Linked DNA regions of Homo sapiens: regions 2 and 3 are each linked to region 1. Evidence: promoter capture Hi-C in 16 types of primary human blood cells and fetal thymus (Javierre and others, 2016). All regions are on one chromosome and are shown on one strand. Each heading gives the region's core, a stretch centred on a gene start or on the middle of the fragment in contact. The rest is flanking DNA. Distances are from core to core; before and after follow the strand shown. Region 1 holds the start of RBM12B-AS1 (RBM12B antisense RNA 1). Region 2 overlaps OSGIN2 (oxidative stress induced growth inhibitor family member 2). Region 3 holds the start of TMEM64 (transmembrane protein 64).

What was found. Contacts are between HindIII fragments. The CHiCAGO score rates a contact against its expected background, and 5 or more counts as called.
Region 2: a fragment that was not itself captured here is called in contact with the fragment with the promoter of RBM12B-AS1 in region 1 in 1 of 17 cell types (neutrophils); the score reaches 6.1 in neutrophils.
Region 3: a contact is called between a fragment that was not itself captured here and the fragment with the promoter of RBM12B-AS1 in region 1, in 3 of 17 cell types (total B cells, erythroblasts and total CD8 T cells). The highest score is 7.7, in total B cells.

The regions. Positions count from the first base shown.
Region 1 is chr8:93,737,676-93,742,160 of GRCh38, forward strand. RBM12B-AS1 (RBM12B antisense RNA 1) reads left to right here and starts at 2,436. Exons shown (of 1, transcript NR_027259.1): 1 at 2,436-3,144. RBM12B (RNA binding motif protein 12B) reads right to left here and starts at 3,334. Exons shown (of 4, transcript NM_001377960.1): 1 at 3,206-3,334; 2 at 2,954-3,021. RBM12B-DT (RBM12B divergent transcript) reads left to right here and starts at 3,408. Exons shown (of 2, transcript NR_183450.1): 1 at 3,408-3,784. RefSeq lists an enhancer at 3,241-3,360. The HindIII fragment of the contact is 1,858 bases long and covers 1,531-3,388 here.
Region 2 is chr8:89,910,497-89,914,981 of GRCh38, forward strand. It overlaps OSGIN2 (oxidative stress induced growth inhibitor family member 2), which reads left to right. Exons shown (of 6, transcript NM_001126111.3): 3 at 3,581-3,717; 4 at 4,059-4,250. Among named protein-coding and RNA genes, the nearest start is that of OSGIN2, 10 kb to the left of the region's middle. The HindIII fragment of the contact is 5,654 bases long and covers 1-4,485 here.
Region 3 is chr8:90,644,195-90,648,679 of GRCh38, forward strand. TMEM64 (transmembrane protein 64) reads right to left here and starts at 1,889. Exons shown (of 3, transcript NM_001008495.4): 1 at 917-1,889. The coding sequence starts at 1,711. It overlaps LOC124906712 (translation initiation factor IF-2), which reads left to right and starts at 2,247. Exons shown (of 2, transcript NR_185471.1): 1 at 2,247-2,439; 2 at 4,284-4,485. RefSeq lists an enhancer at 916-1,245 and silencers at 1,356-1,755, 1,886-2,295. The HindIII fragment of the contact is 3,173 bases long and covers 559-3,731 here.

The DNA of each region.
Region 1 (4,485 bases), core at 1,186-3,685:
AGTTACATGGGTGTATAAATTTATCAAGGTTTACTGAATTCTATCCTTAGGGTCTATACATTTTGCTGTACACAAGTTTTACATCTACTTCAAAAAACTGTTCTACAAGTAAAATCTCAATACCCAAAGTTCAAAAAAAAAAAAAAAAAAAAAAGAACTTCAATCATTTTGCCACATGAAAATCCAAAAATCTAGTACATATTTATATCCAACTCTCGTGCTGTTCTCCTCCCTTTCAAAACATAAGACCAAATCAAATTAAGGCAACCATTCAAAATTACACAATAAATGAATAAAACAGCAAAGCCTGAAATTCAAAAATCAATTTTTAAAACAATAAATCCAAACCTATGGGCTATTGTTTGGATACAATTTAAAGGTCTATATAAACAGCTCATACATCCAAGCACAGAACCAAATTTCATGAAGCCAGTATAATTAAGGCAAATACTACAATATCCCTAAAGTTAAAAATCTCAATACCACTCCTATTGCAAAAATAGTAACTGTTACAATTCATCTCAAGCCAAACAGAAAATGCTATTTATCTTATTAATAATGCCAATAGCAGATTTCCATTTCAAACAACTATTCTGCACTCTACTAAGGAAACCCAAATGATGATGTAGAAAAGTAAAATTAAAAATTAACTTGGAATACTGGGATTACCCGTTTACTGAAAAATCTCAATGTAATTTTTTAAAGAAGTTTGCGTTTAATACTTTCAGGGATACCCAAACTATTTCATGAAGACTTGCCAAATAAATAATTATAATTTACACTCACTTTCTTTGGTGGGGGAGACAGGGTCTCTCTTGCTCTGCTACCCAGGCTGGAGTGCACTGGTGCGATCTTGGCTCACTACAGCCTCGACTTACCCAGGCTCAGGCAATGCTCCCACCTCAGCCTCCCCAGTAGCTGGGACTACAGGTGTGCACCACCACACCCGGCTAATTTTTGTATTTTTTGTAGAGCCAGGGTTTCACCATGTTGCCCAGGCTGGTAGGGAACTCATGGGCTCAAGCAATCAGCTCACCTCAGCCTCCCACAGTGCTAGGATTTACAGGTATGAGCCACTGCGCCTGGAGTAATTTACATGTCTTTAATGTACAAATAAATGTTGCGTTAATCCAGAATCCAGTACTTACACTTAAGTACCACTGTTCCCCAAAGTGGGGGTCTGAAGATACATTCACTGAGGTCTGTTTTCCTTTAAAAAAGGGTACGTAGATTAACCAGAAGCTAAACTAGCAAAGACATCAAATTACTTCACACATTCTACATCTGAAAAATATTAATCAGGTTTGCTATTAAAGTATTTGCACAGTAACAAAAAAAGAAAAAAAGCCTATTTTCTTCAACAAACCAATATCCATACTAACACTTCAACAAAAACTACAAATGGCTTCTGGAATACTTACTTTATCCATATTAAAGTCCCAAGACTCCCTCCTATGCAAATTGGCTTAGCTACTCTTTTTAAGATATTTTAGAAAGCACCATAAGCTATACATATTCTTGTCTCTCCTAAGCTTTTAAAAAAATTTTAACGGGATTTACCCTGGGAACATAAATTCATCTACAAGAGAAATTAGAGACGTTTCAAGGAATAATTATATCTCAAATTCAAAAAAACTCTAGTAATTTATCCTACCTCACTTAAAAACTATCTTTTAACCAAGTAGTTTCATGAGCACAAATCTCATGAATTCCAATTCAAGCAGACTATTTAGAAAGTTTATTCTCATTTGCCACAGTTAAACAAAACTAATGCTTAAACTTCTCTACCCTTGAGACAGTAGGGTAATGTACCATTTATGCCTCTACAATAACACACCTTGGAGACCAACTGTAAGAGACCAGCTCTCAAAATGGGCACTTCTGTGGTTCCAACATGCTATATTTCCTTAAGCAAATTCTCCAGAAATTCAACTCTTAACACACTAAATTACACAAAAGCAAAACACGAAAATTACCCTCAAGTAGTCTGCAATTAAAATTTTGCGTTTTTCTAGTTATGAATGCAAAAAGTATTTTTGTGCCTTTGTGTTCATTTGAAGACAATAATCTGTTAAAATTTCTATGAAAAGAAGAGTGGGTCCCTAAAAGATCACTTAAGTCAGTGAAATTTAAAGCGCATTTTAAATAACTGCTATTTTTATCCAACGATTCATCCCACTTAATCACCATTATAACTAAACAATACGTAACGTGCCTCTTCTAATCAAGACTTAAGGGGATACAGAGAGGGAAACGGGAGGGAGACAGAATTTAAATAAGTAATATCTCATCAGATCCATTTGATTTTTAACTAGCGAAGAAAAAGTCATTTTCCAGATATGGTGAGGGAGAGAATTTTTTTTAACTCTGCGACTACTTCGTAAAGCCCAAGGTCATGATGTAGCATATTCACACTCTAAACGTGAGTTTCCCCTGCAGAAAATAATCTACACCAACCCATAATTATTCTTTACGATGATCCACCTTTTATAATGTAGATGTTTAAAATAAAAACCAAAGGAATGACCAATGAGAGCCACAGTCCCTAGGAAGAACTGTAAATGAAGACGAATCCACATGGCACAGGATTTCTCCCAACATCCTCAAACGGGAATCATCCGAAGGCATCGATTCTACAGCCCAAAGCCTTTGTCCACAACTCCCAGGGGTCAGAGCTTCCTTCTTTCGCGCCAGGCCAAAGTTGCTACGTGGGATCCGATGTTGTCGCCAGACTTTCAGCCAAAATCAGCCTTCAAATTAACCTGGACCGCCCAACCTCCGTGCCTTTCCGTTACGCCGTCTCAAGGGCAAACATTCCACCCTAACTCGCCAGAGGGTGAACTGCCCCCAGATCTAACTGAAAACACTTGCCCTTCTCAAGCCTAACGAGCTGGGCCTGCAGCGCTTTTCTGCCACCACTGACTACGATGACATAGCAAAGAAAAAAATATACCTATGAAATCCTTCGAGATCTTCACTCTCAAGATCCCTGGGAAGCGCACATACACCACCACATGGAAGCTGACGGGAAAGGAAGAGTCGGTGTTTTAGCAAGAAAAGAGGGTGCCCTAACGGCAGGAGCTACGCTAGATACTGGCGCGGCCGCCGGTCCCGCCTTTCCCCGTTCTTCCGGCTTGGTCGCCCAGCCCTCCCCACCCCCGGCGCCCCGAGGGGAACTGCTTCGCACTTGGCAATAAACACACACCACTGCTGCCGAGTCGGACACACAAGGCCGGAGGCTGAGGGAACTCTTCGTCGCAGCAGCCTCCCCAAAACAGGTAGACCCTCAGTGAGCCCAGAAGAAGATGGCGCCCACTGCCCCTCCGGTCCGGACAAACGGACGTACGGTTTATCTGCCCATGCGCTCTGCAGGCGCAACCCACCACCAAGCTTGCGCACGCGCGCTGCCGCTCACCCGTTTCCCCTCGCTAGAGGAGGGGAGGCGGAGCCCCGGGGTTGGCTGAGCTTCTGCGCATGCCCAGATTCTGCCCAGCCCAGGGACCTCGACTTTCAACGGGAGAAATTCAGAGACACATTCAGGGCTCAGCCGGTAGATGTGCTGAGAATCTTCGGTAGACAACTGTCGAAGTACGGCGGACAAACTTTAAAGATTTCCAGAAGTTAAGGAAAGAGATGCAAAAGCAGAGAAAAGGCGACTTGTCTTTTCAGTGTTGCATTACTGTGTGGCGTAAAACATCTTCTAAAAAGCTCCTGTGGCCGGGCACGGTGGCTCACGTCTGTAATCCCAGCACTTTGGGAGGCCGAAGCGGGCGAATCACTTGAGGTCAGTAGTTCGAGACCAGCCCGCCCAAAAAGCGAAACCCCCGTCTCTACTAAAAATACAAAAAAGTCAGCCTGGCATGGTGGCGGGCGCCTGTAATCCCAGCTACTCGGGAGGCTGAGGCAGGAGAATCGCTTGAACCCGAGAGATGGAGGCTGTAGTGAGCCGAGATCGCACCGCTGCACTCCAGCCAGGTCAAAAGAGTGAAACTCCATCTCAAAACAAAAATAAAAAAGCTCCTGTAGACCCTAGAATACCACAGAAAAGGTAATTTTACTGCCTTAGATGTTCGCCAAGTACAATCCCAACACCTGGGGGCTTAATAAATGCATGCTTAGTCGGTTTTATAGATATAAATAACCTTGTGAAGTGTCTTTATAAATTTGTTCCCATCTTCTGGATTTTTGAAACAAGAGAACAGATGAGCCAGTACTGAAATTTCAGTAATGGAAAAGCACTATTACAGGTGTACTCTGTGATGCCTGCTACGTAATAGCTGGTGAACAACCTTGTGTTTGGTTTTATCATTTGCAAATAACAAAGTTTCCCACCACGTTGTATAGCTACTTGATGTATTTGTGGATGGATTCAAAGCTCATTAAGCAGAAAGTACATTTTAAAAACATTGTTACAGATGACAGAAAAAGTGAGTTGTGGATCCCTTTCTCACTGCAAAATACCCATTCTTTAATGATATGATTATA
Region 2 (4,485 bases), core at 1,381-3,880, 3.8 Mb before region 1:
AGGAAGGGGAGAAAATTCATGTCCTCTGGCTTGTGGGAGGAAAAGAGGAGAGCAAGATTGTTCTATACTAGGTTCTATACTAGATTCTCCTCTACAGGATATGATAGAGGTGACAGTTTTTGTAATAGTTCTCAACCAAGAGATATCAGGGACCATACGTCATGTTTCATTTTCCCCCTTACCTCTAACCTTGGTTTTCTATCCTGAATGAATGGAGGAATCCTGTCTTCTTGTGTGGCTAGGCTGTGGGAAGGTCAGAAAAGAAAAACTTAACCTTCATTTGCACCTGCCCACTCCACTTCCCACAAAGCAGCCTATCCCTGTTTTGCCTCAGCTAGCTGTGAGTAGCTTAGCCTCATGTATATTTATATAGTGTCATTACTGTTGACAATGGCACCACCAGCCTGAGCATAAAGAGCTAATTTCTTAAATATATGTTTTCTGTTGCCGCTGTAACAAATTACCACAAAACTAGTGGCTTTAAACAATGTGAATGTATTATTCTACTGTTCTGTGGGTCAGAAATTCAACATGGGTCTTCCTGGGCCAAAATCAAGGTGTTGGCAGGGCTGTGTTGCTTTCTGGAGGCTCTAGGGAAGAATGTTTCCTTTTCCTGGCTCCCTTCTGTAGCTTCAAAATCAGCAATGTTGTTTCTTAACCTTCTTTCATTGTCATGTCTCCCTTTCACCACAACTGGGAAAAGTTCTCTATTTTTAAGGACTCTTGTGATTAGATTGGGTCTACCTGGGTAATCTAGACTACTCTCCATCTCAGGATCCTTAATCATATCTACAGAGTCCTTTTGCTCTGTAGTAACATTTACAGGTTCTAGGGGATAGGACTGGGACATCTCTGGGCACAGTGGATCACGCCTGTTATCCCAGAACTTTGGGAGGCTGAGGTGGGCTGGATCATCTGAGCACAGGAGTTCGAGACCAGCCTGGCCAACATGGTGAAACCCCGTCTCTACTAAAAATACAAAAATTAGCCGGGCATGGTGGCGGGCAACTGTAATCCTAGCTACTTGGGAGGCTGAGGCAGGAGGATCGCCTGAACCCAGGAGGTGGAGGTTGCAGTGAGCCGCGATTGCGCCATTGTACTCCAGCTTGGGCGACAAGTGAAACTCTGTCTAAAAAAAAAAAAAAAAAGAAAAGAGGGCCAGGCCTGGTAGCTCACACCTGTAATCCCAGCACTTTGAGAGGCTGAGGCGGGCATATAACAAGGTCAGGAGATCGAGACCATCCTGGCTAACAGGGTGAAACCTTGTCTCTACTAAAAATACAAAAAATTAGCCAGGCATGGTGGCGAGTGCCTGTAGTCAGTCCCAGCTTCTCGGGAGGCTGAGGCAGGAGAATGGTGTGAACCCGTGAGGCAGAGGTTGCAATGAGCCGAGATCGCACCACTGTACTCCAGCTTGGGCGACAGAGCGAGACTCCGTCTCAAAAAAAAAAAAGATATAAAATTAGTTCTAAATATTTTTTATTTTTCTTTCAGTCTTTAAGGCTTCCTATTCTAGAATTATAAGTTGAAATCTTTCTCTGCTTTCTCTGTTTCTAGTATTCTTATGGTTTTACTTTTCTTATATCTTTGAGTATATTTTATTTGGGGTAACATATTAGGTAAGGAACAGGATTTTTTCTTTGCAGCTAGCAATTCTCTAGGTTGGATTAAATTTTTGAAAGGCAGATATAATAAGTGGTAATCCAGAATAAAGGAATTATTAATTCATAAATGGAAGTAGTTCAGGAAATCCAGTTTGGTTTTAGTTAAAGCATATAAACATATAGGAAAGCAATATCAGGATTTAGGACTGGAAAGATGGTTGAGATGTATAATCACCTGGCAGTTTCTTGCCTGCTGCACAGACAAAACCATTTCACTGAGACCATGGCGTTGCAGTAAAGAAGTTGACACAAGGCCAGCCCATGTGAGAGAACTGCAGTTGTTCAAATTAGTCTCCTGATAAAACTCCTGATTGGTTGGGCGTGATGGCTCATACTTGTAATCCCAGCACTTGGGGAGGCTGTGGTGGGTGGATCAAGAGATCAAGACTGTCCTGGCCAACACGCTGAAACCCCGTCTCTACTAAAAATACAAAAATAAGCTGGGTGTGGTGTCGTGTACCTCTAGTCCTAGCTACTTGGGAGGCTGAGGCAGGAGAATCGCTTGAACCCAGGAGGCAGAGGTTGCAGTGAGCCGAGATCATGCCACTGCACTCCAGCCTGGTGACACAGCGAGACTCTGTCTGAAAAAAAAAAACACAACGAAAAAAACAAAACTCCTGATCCCTCCTGATGGCTTGGAGGTTAGGGTTTTTCAAGGATAGTTGGGTGAACAGGGGACTAGGGAATAGGTGCTGCTGATTGGTTGGGGATGCCATGCTGGGGGTATCAAAAATGGTTCTCTAGCACTGAGTCCAACTCTGGGTGGGGGGCCGCAGGACTGGTTCAGTTGAGTCTTGGGTCTGAGTCTTGAATCTTGGGACCAATAGAGTCAGACAGTCATCAGAAATGCAAAAGTCTGAAAAGACATTTCAAAAGGCCAACCTCAGGATCCACAGTAGCGATGTTATCTGTAAGAGCAATTAGGGAAGTCACACATCATGTGACCTCTGGCTGCGTGACTCTTCAGCAGTAAAGGATTATAGAAACTCTGCCTACATCTTAGCAGAATTCCGGCACCTCTCATAATCCGAACCTTGTGGCCTTTCATTAGTTTTAGAAAGGCGGTTTAATTTTGGGAAGGACTGTTACCATCCTTGCTTTAAGGTTAAACTATAAATTCCTTCCATGATTAGCTTTGCCTATACCCAGGAGTGAGGGAAGACAGCCGGCCTTTGAAGCTAGAAGCAAGATGGAGTCAGCCATGTTAGATTTCTCTCACTGTCATAATCTTTGCAAAAGTTGTTTCAAATGGAGAACACTGGATAGTCAGAAACAAACAATGAAGACCTTTAGAACAGAAGGCTAACATGATGAGGATTATGTTACCAAAACTTATGTGAATGTAGTATGTGAAATGATTGGGAGTGGGTGAATCTCAGGGCAGAGAAACAGTAGGAGACTTGTCTTTTAGGTGAAGTACAGGAATGAGAATAGCAAAGACAACTGACAAGATATAGGGGGCAAACTAGGTTTAGAACCAGAAACTGATTAACTTAGAAGTTTGCTAGTACCATACTTTGAGATAGGATAGGGTTTGAAGGAGAGGGCACCTCAATGAAGGGACTCATGAGCTTGCTTTTGAGCACATTACATTAAAGTTATTAGTGGGCCATTCTATCAGGTAGAATCAAGAAGTGGAATGGAAATGTGGGATATATCCTTGGGAAATAGGTCAATTTAGAGAACTAATTTTGGATGTCAGTAGCCTAGAGAGTTGAAGCCTTGAGTAGATGAGATTCCCAAAAGAAAATAGGAGAGAAGGCAGAGGTTAAAATCTCATGAAACATCTGGTTTTAAGAGATTAGAAAAGGAAGAACTGGTCAGAGAAAAGAGCCATCTTCAAAGTAGGACAAAAGCCAAGGAACAAGAGTATTAAGATGCATGACCTACCCCTTTCCACCTTTTATTTTTAATAGGAAATGGACCCTCAGGAATATGCCTTTCTTATATGTTATCAGGCTACAGACCGTATTTATCATCAGAAGCAATACACCCAAATACAATCTTAAATAGTAAATTAGAAGAAGCAAGACATCTTTCCATTGTTGATCAGGTATTATTTCTTACATGTCAATTTAAAAAATTTTTTTATGCTGAAACAAGATTAGTTTTTATTTATATGAACTTTCTTAGTTGAAACCCCTTATTCTAAATAACACCTTATATCATTTTTATTTTAGATTCGTAAATGTATTCTGAGTTACTTCTGTTTATTTTCTTGAATTTATTAGAGCAGAGTTTTCTGAATTATTTTCTAATGGAGATTTAGTAGGTGCTCTGTGGTCAAGTTGGGGGTACTGCTTTTTATCATTGGAGCATCATGGTAAGCATTAGAATATACTATCTGGGAAATGCTGGCTTTTTTCAAACTCTGTCTCCCTTTTGTTCATTCAGGACTTAGAATACTTGTCTGAGGGCCTTGAGGGCCGATCATCCAATCCAGTTGCAGTACTTTTCGATACACTTCTTCATCCAGATGCTGACTTTGGGTATGATTATCCATCCGTTTTGCATTGGAAATTAGAGCAACATCATTATATCCCTCACGTAGTTCTTGGTAAAGGTCCACCTGGTGGGGCTTGGCATGTGAGTATATTTTTCTTAGCATTTTAGTGTATGTGAATTATTTGTCTTGATAAGACCAACTTTATTCTTAAGCATTATGATAATGTTATATGTGATGTTTATCACATTTTTATTTGAGAAGAACTTTAATGCTGTTCAGTTAGTTAAATATGGGTTTATTACAAGTAGCAGTAAATCAAGCCAAATTTTATTACTGGTACAGTCTTAGAATAAGCATGTCTCTATACTATCTTAC
Region 3 (4,485 bases), core at 895-3,394, 3.1 Mb before region 1:
GAATTTGGGGAACATGGTAATCTACTTTTTTAAGTCCTTCACTTTCGAAAAGAGAAAAGTGAAGCCAGACAGGGTCAGTAACTTGATCCAAAGTCACAAAGTTTGTAAAGACCAGATTCCTTTCTTCCAATAAGATGATCTCTTCACTAGCAGTGTTTCTATCCTAAATCAGTTGCATGGAGATGCACACTAGCTATAGAAACCTGAGTAAGCAAAACATATGAATACAAGGACAGAAAAGAGTCTATAATGGTGCAGATACAGAAGAAAAATATATGCTAACTGAGCAAAAGATTATCTGTTCTGTTTTATTCACCACCCCGTGATTTCGAAATGAAGTTCCTCCAAAGAAAGAAAGATAAACAGTAGGATTTTCTTCTTTACATCACATTAAAGCACAATTACTTGAAGAAGAAAAAGCCCATTTCAAATTTAGCAAACTCCAAAATCTGGAGTCTGCAACTAGCTCCTCCACTGTTTACTGAAACACTTCCTTTGGTCCATGTCGCTAAAAACTTGAATCAAAACCCTGGATGTATTTATGTAAGCAAGAGAGAAAGCTTTCCTCCCTAAATGTTGCCAAAGCTGCTACAAAAGATGACAAGTATTAAAGATGGGCATTTCCATTCATGTCCCTGCATGCCTATTGTTAAGAGGGCTTTTCATTTTTAATTACATTCCCATCCCTAAAAGAAACATTAGTTTTTTATCTAACAAACTCTCTTTCGAGGCTCCGCGTTAGGTATGTTTTATGTGTAGGACAGACTTCCCAGGCTGCGATGGAAAGTAATCGTAACTCCTGCCGTCAATGTCACTTCTCTGCTGGTATTTATCTGATAGAGCGCCCTCCTAGGGCCGCCACAAGACCGCTCAAAAACAGACTTGGAGAGGGATAGGCCAGCGGGACCCCACTTACCGAAAACACTGCATTCTGAAGCCCAAAAGGTATGGGTGTCAGTCTGGCCAGCGCCACCACTTTCAGGCCGCTTCCTCCCTCCACTACGCGAATAACCGCGCTCAGCTTCTCGCTGCTCTGGATCCTGGCGGCCACCCAGGCGGTGAGGAGCCGCTTGCAGACCACATGGGCGATGAAGGTGCCGATGAGGACGCCCACCATCATCAGACCCATGCCCAGCACGAAGCCGTACAGGTAGCCAGCGGCCACGTTGAGCACGATGTAGCCCCAGCCGCAGGGGAAAGAGACCACGATGAAGCCCACGACGAAGAGCAGGACCCCCAGCAGCGAGTCAAGGCTCTCCACCCACAGCAGGAGGTGGTGAAGGTAGCGGCGGACCAGGGCCAGGGAAGCGAAGCACAGGGCGGCCAACACGCAGACCAGCACGAGGCTCCGGCACCAACAGGTGCTGCCGAGGCAGCAGCAGCGCCAGTTTCTCACCTCAGCCACGCCGACCACCACGCCGCCGCCGCCACTCCCGGGGCCGCCCGCCAAGGCCCCGCCCGGCTCCGGCAGCTCCGAAGCCTCGGGCGGACCGTGGCGCTCCAGATAGGCGCCGAGCAGGGCGCCCGAGGCCGCCGCTGCTGCCGCCGCCGCGCTCGCCCCGCCCCCGCGGGGAAGGCGGTCCGCCGGGCCGTCCCCGCCCGCACCCCGCGGCAGGGCCCAGCGGGCCGGCAGCTCGGCGAGGCCCGGGAGGGCGGCGTGCTGCAGCAGCCGGGGCAGCGCCTGGAGCAGGATCCCGCCCGGGCTCCGCATGCCTCGGCCCAGCGCGGGCCCTCAGCCGGCCAGCCCCTCCGCCGCGGCGCCCGTTAGGCAGCTGCCCTTCATGGCGCCCGGTTCGCCCGGCATCGACTCCCTGCGTCCGCTCAGAGGGTGGGAGACGGCCCGTAGAAGGGCGCGGAGTCAGCGGAGGAGCGACGGCCAGGCGGGGAGTGAGGAAACTCCTGCCCCAGCACCCACGGAGCCCACTCCGGTGGTGCCCGCCCCTTGTCGGCCAGAGGGGGCGGGGCCGCGGGCGATGGGGCGGAGCGGGCTGTGTTCTGGTCCGCTCCCGTGACGCGCTGCCCGCCAGGCTGCGGGGGTCGCGGGGCGTCCGCGTGGGCCAGCGGAGGCCCACAGCTGCGGAGGGAAACCACTGGGAGGGGAGAAGGAGCTCTAGGGAGAGCGAGGCTGCAACGAGGGGAGAGCCGGGCGACGGGCAGGGGCCCAGGCGCGCTCCCCGACTTCCCACAGGCGCGCGCATGCCTGCGTGTCAGGGCGCGCGCTCCCCCTCTCGGACCGAGGCGACCCCAGTCCGTGAGCGGCTTGGATCCTCGCCCGTTCCCTCCTGGTCGTTTCCGCAGTAACCTCTTATCAGAGCGGGCAGCTGTGAGTGGCGCTCACATCCGCCGCTGCCCTGTCGAATGGGGGAAAGAGTTCTTGTGTTCTGAGGAGGGTTTGGCTATGGTCCTTGACCCTATTCTTGTCTCAGACTTGCCTCCCAGGTATCGAGGTCTCCCTGTGGGTTTCATATGGCTTGGTCCTTTAGGAGCTGGAAAAATTAGGCATAAAGTCCCCCCACCCCCTTGACAGAACGCCCCTTCTGACTCCAGAGGTCCTTTATCGAGTGCCAGGCATTGGTCTAGGGGCATTTGAAAAAGATTCACTGAAGGACATTTTTAAGAGTTCGCTTTCTCAGAGGGCAGCTTCTCAAACTCATTCGCTGGTTTCTTTTCCTCTTTCCGCCTGTTTAAGGTTAGTGTTCCCCAGGTCCTCTTGCCGTCTTCCTTTTCAGAGTTTCCTGAGCCATCTCATCCAGGCCCAACAGCTTTGATCCTGCCGTGCCCCCCATAAGAAGTGACCCCTAAGTGAATGTCTCTGCCCACACTTCCCAGCTTGTGGTCCGGCCTGTGGACACATCCAGGTGGAATTCTGCAGGCAGCTCAAACTCAGCAGAGCTTGGTAGATAGATGATCAACTTGGGCTCTGGTGCAAATCACGTTTAGTAACTGGTCAAACAATCAGTCCCTGAATCTCATTGTTTCTTTTTAAATTGCAAAATGGAGATAATGGTACAACTTAGCTTCGTAAGAGTGTTGTGAGGATTAAACAAAATAGTAAAGTAAGGTGATTAGCACTATGCCTGAAATCAGTCGTCAGTAAATGTTAACTATGTGATGGTATCCCTCATTAAAAGTGTGATCCCCCATAGACCGACTCTTCCTTCTGGGTTTCATATCTCAGTGGATGACCTTCCACCCAGTTGCCTGCCAGATAACGGACCAGGACACCTTAGGTCGTTGCTGATCAGGCTCCTGCTTGCTGGCTGATCAGGCTCCTCCATGCCATTCCCTCCTATCCACCCTGGTTGGGCTGAGTCAGGTAGAGTCCCTACTAGGTGCCAGGCAAGTGCTACATCCTTCAACTCTCTTTTCCAAGCCTTGTGACTCACACGGAGGAGCAGCTCTTACTGCTGCCACAGCATTTACCTAAAGTTTTACTTCCGTAAAACAGTACCAAGGAGGGATAGTGCTAAACCATTCATGAGAACTCCATTTCCATGATCCAATCACCTCCCACCAGGCCTCTCCTCCAACAATGGGGATTACATACAGTTTGACATGAGATTTGGGCAGGGACACAAATCCAAACCATATCAGTCCTGCACTACCTTCCCTTCACCATCACCCTCAATTTGGTATTTCCTTTCCTTTCCCAGGCTACTTTCTGTATGGCCATTATCACATTTGTCCCGTTGTATTGTAATTTTTTGTTTACATCACTGTCTCCCTCTTTAAGCTTTGAGTTTCTTCAAGATGGGCCCGTTACTTATTTAATCTAAGGAGCAATGAGCCCTCTTTAAATGTTTGTTGCTTACACAAATGATTGCCATTTGTAGGGGGAAATGAAGGCAGGAAAACCAGACAAAATTGCATAGGCAAGAAGCTGTGAGGATCAGTGAAGTAGGATAATGGTCCTGGTGTTAGTTGAATGGGGATAAGTTTAAAGAGGAGCTGGGCAACTGATTTGTTTTCAGAAGAGAGGGAGAGGTCAAGGATAACACCTGGATTTCTTATTTAAAGTAATAGATAATGGGGCCATTGACCAAGAAAGCGACTACAGCAAGTCTGTAAGAAAGATAGCCTTCAGTCTTGATGCATGAGACTTGAGGTGCCTATGATAACATCCAAACGTGGTATTCCAGTAGATGGTTGAAAATATAGATAGGGAATTAAGTGGGGCATCTCTCCTAGAAATTTTGACATTGGTATATGGGCAGCAATTAAGACCATGTTTATGAATGAGTGCGTGGTGATAGGTGTGCCAAATATTTCCTGTTCTCTTACAGGAATATAGGAGGATTGTATGCCCTGGCCTCCCTGTGATGGGGTTGAACTACATGACATGTTCTCCGAATTAAGTGTGAGCATAGCATTTAATTGTTGATGCAAGACCTTCCAGAACTCTTTTTCTCTTTGCCATGGCAATCATCAGTGTTCCAGAGAGCATATGCACGATCAGCCTTGGTATTGGAGGGAAGATGATGCGGA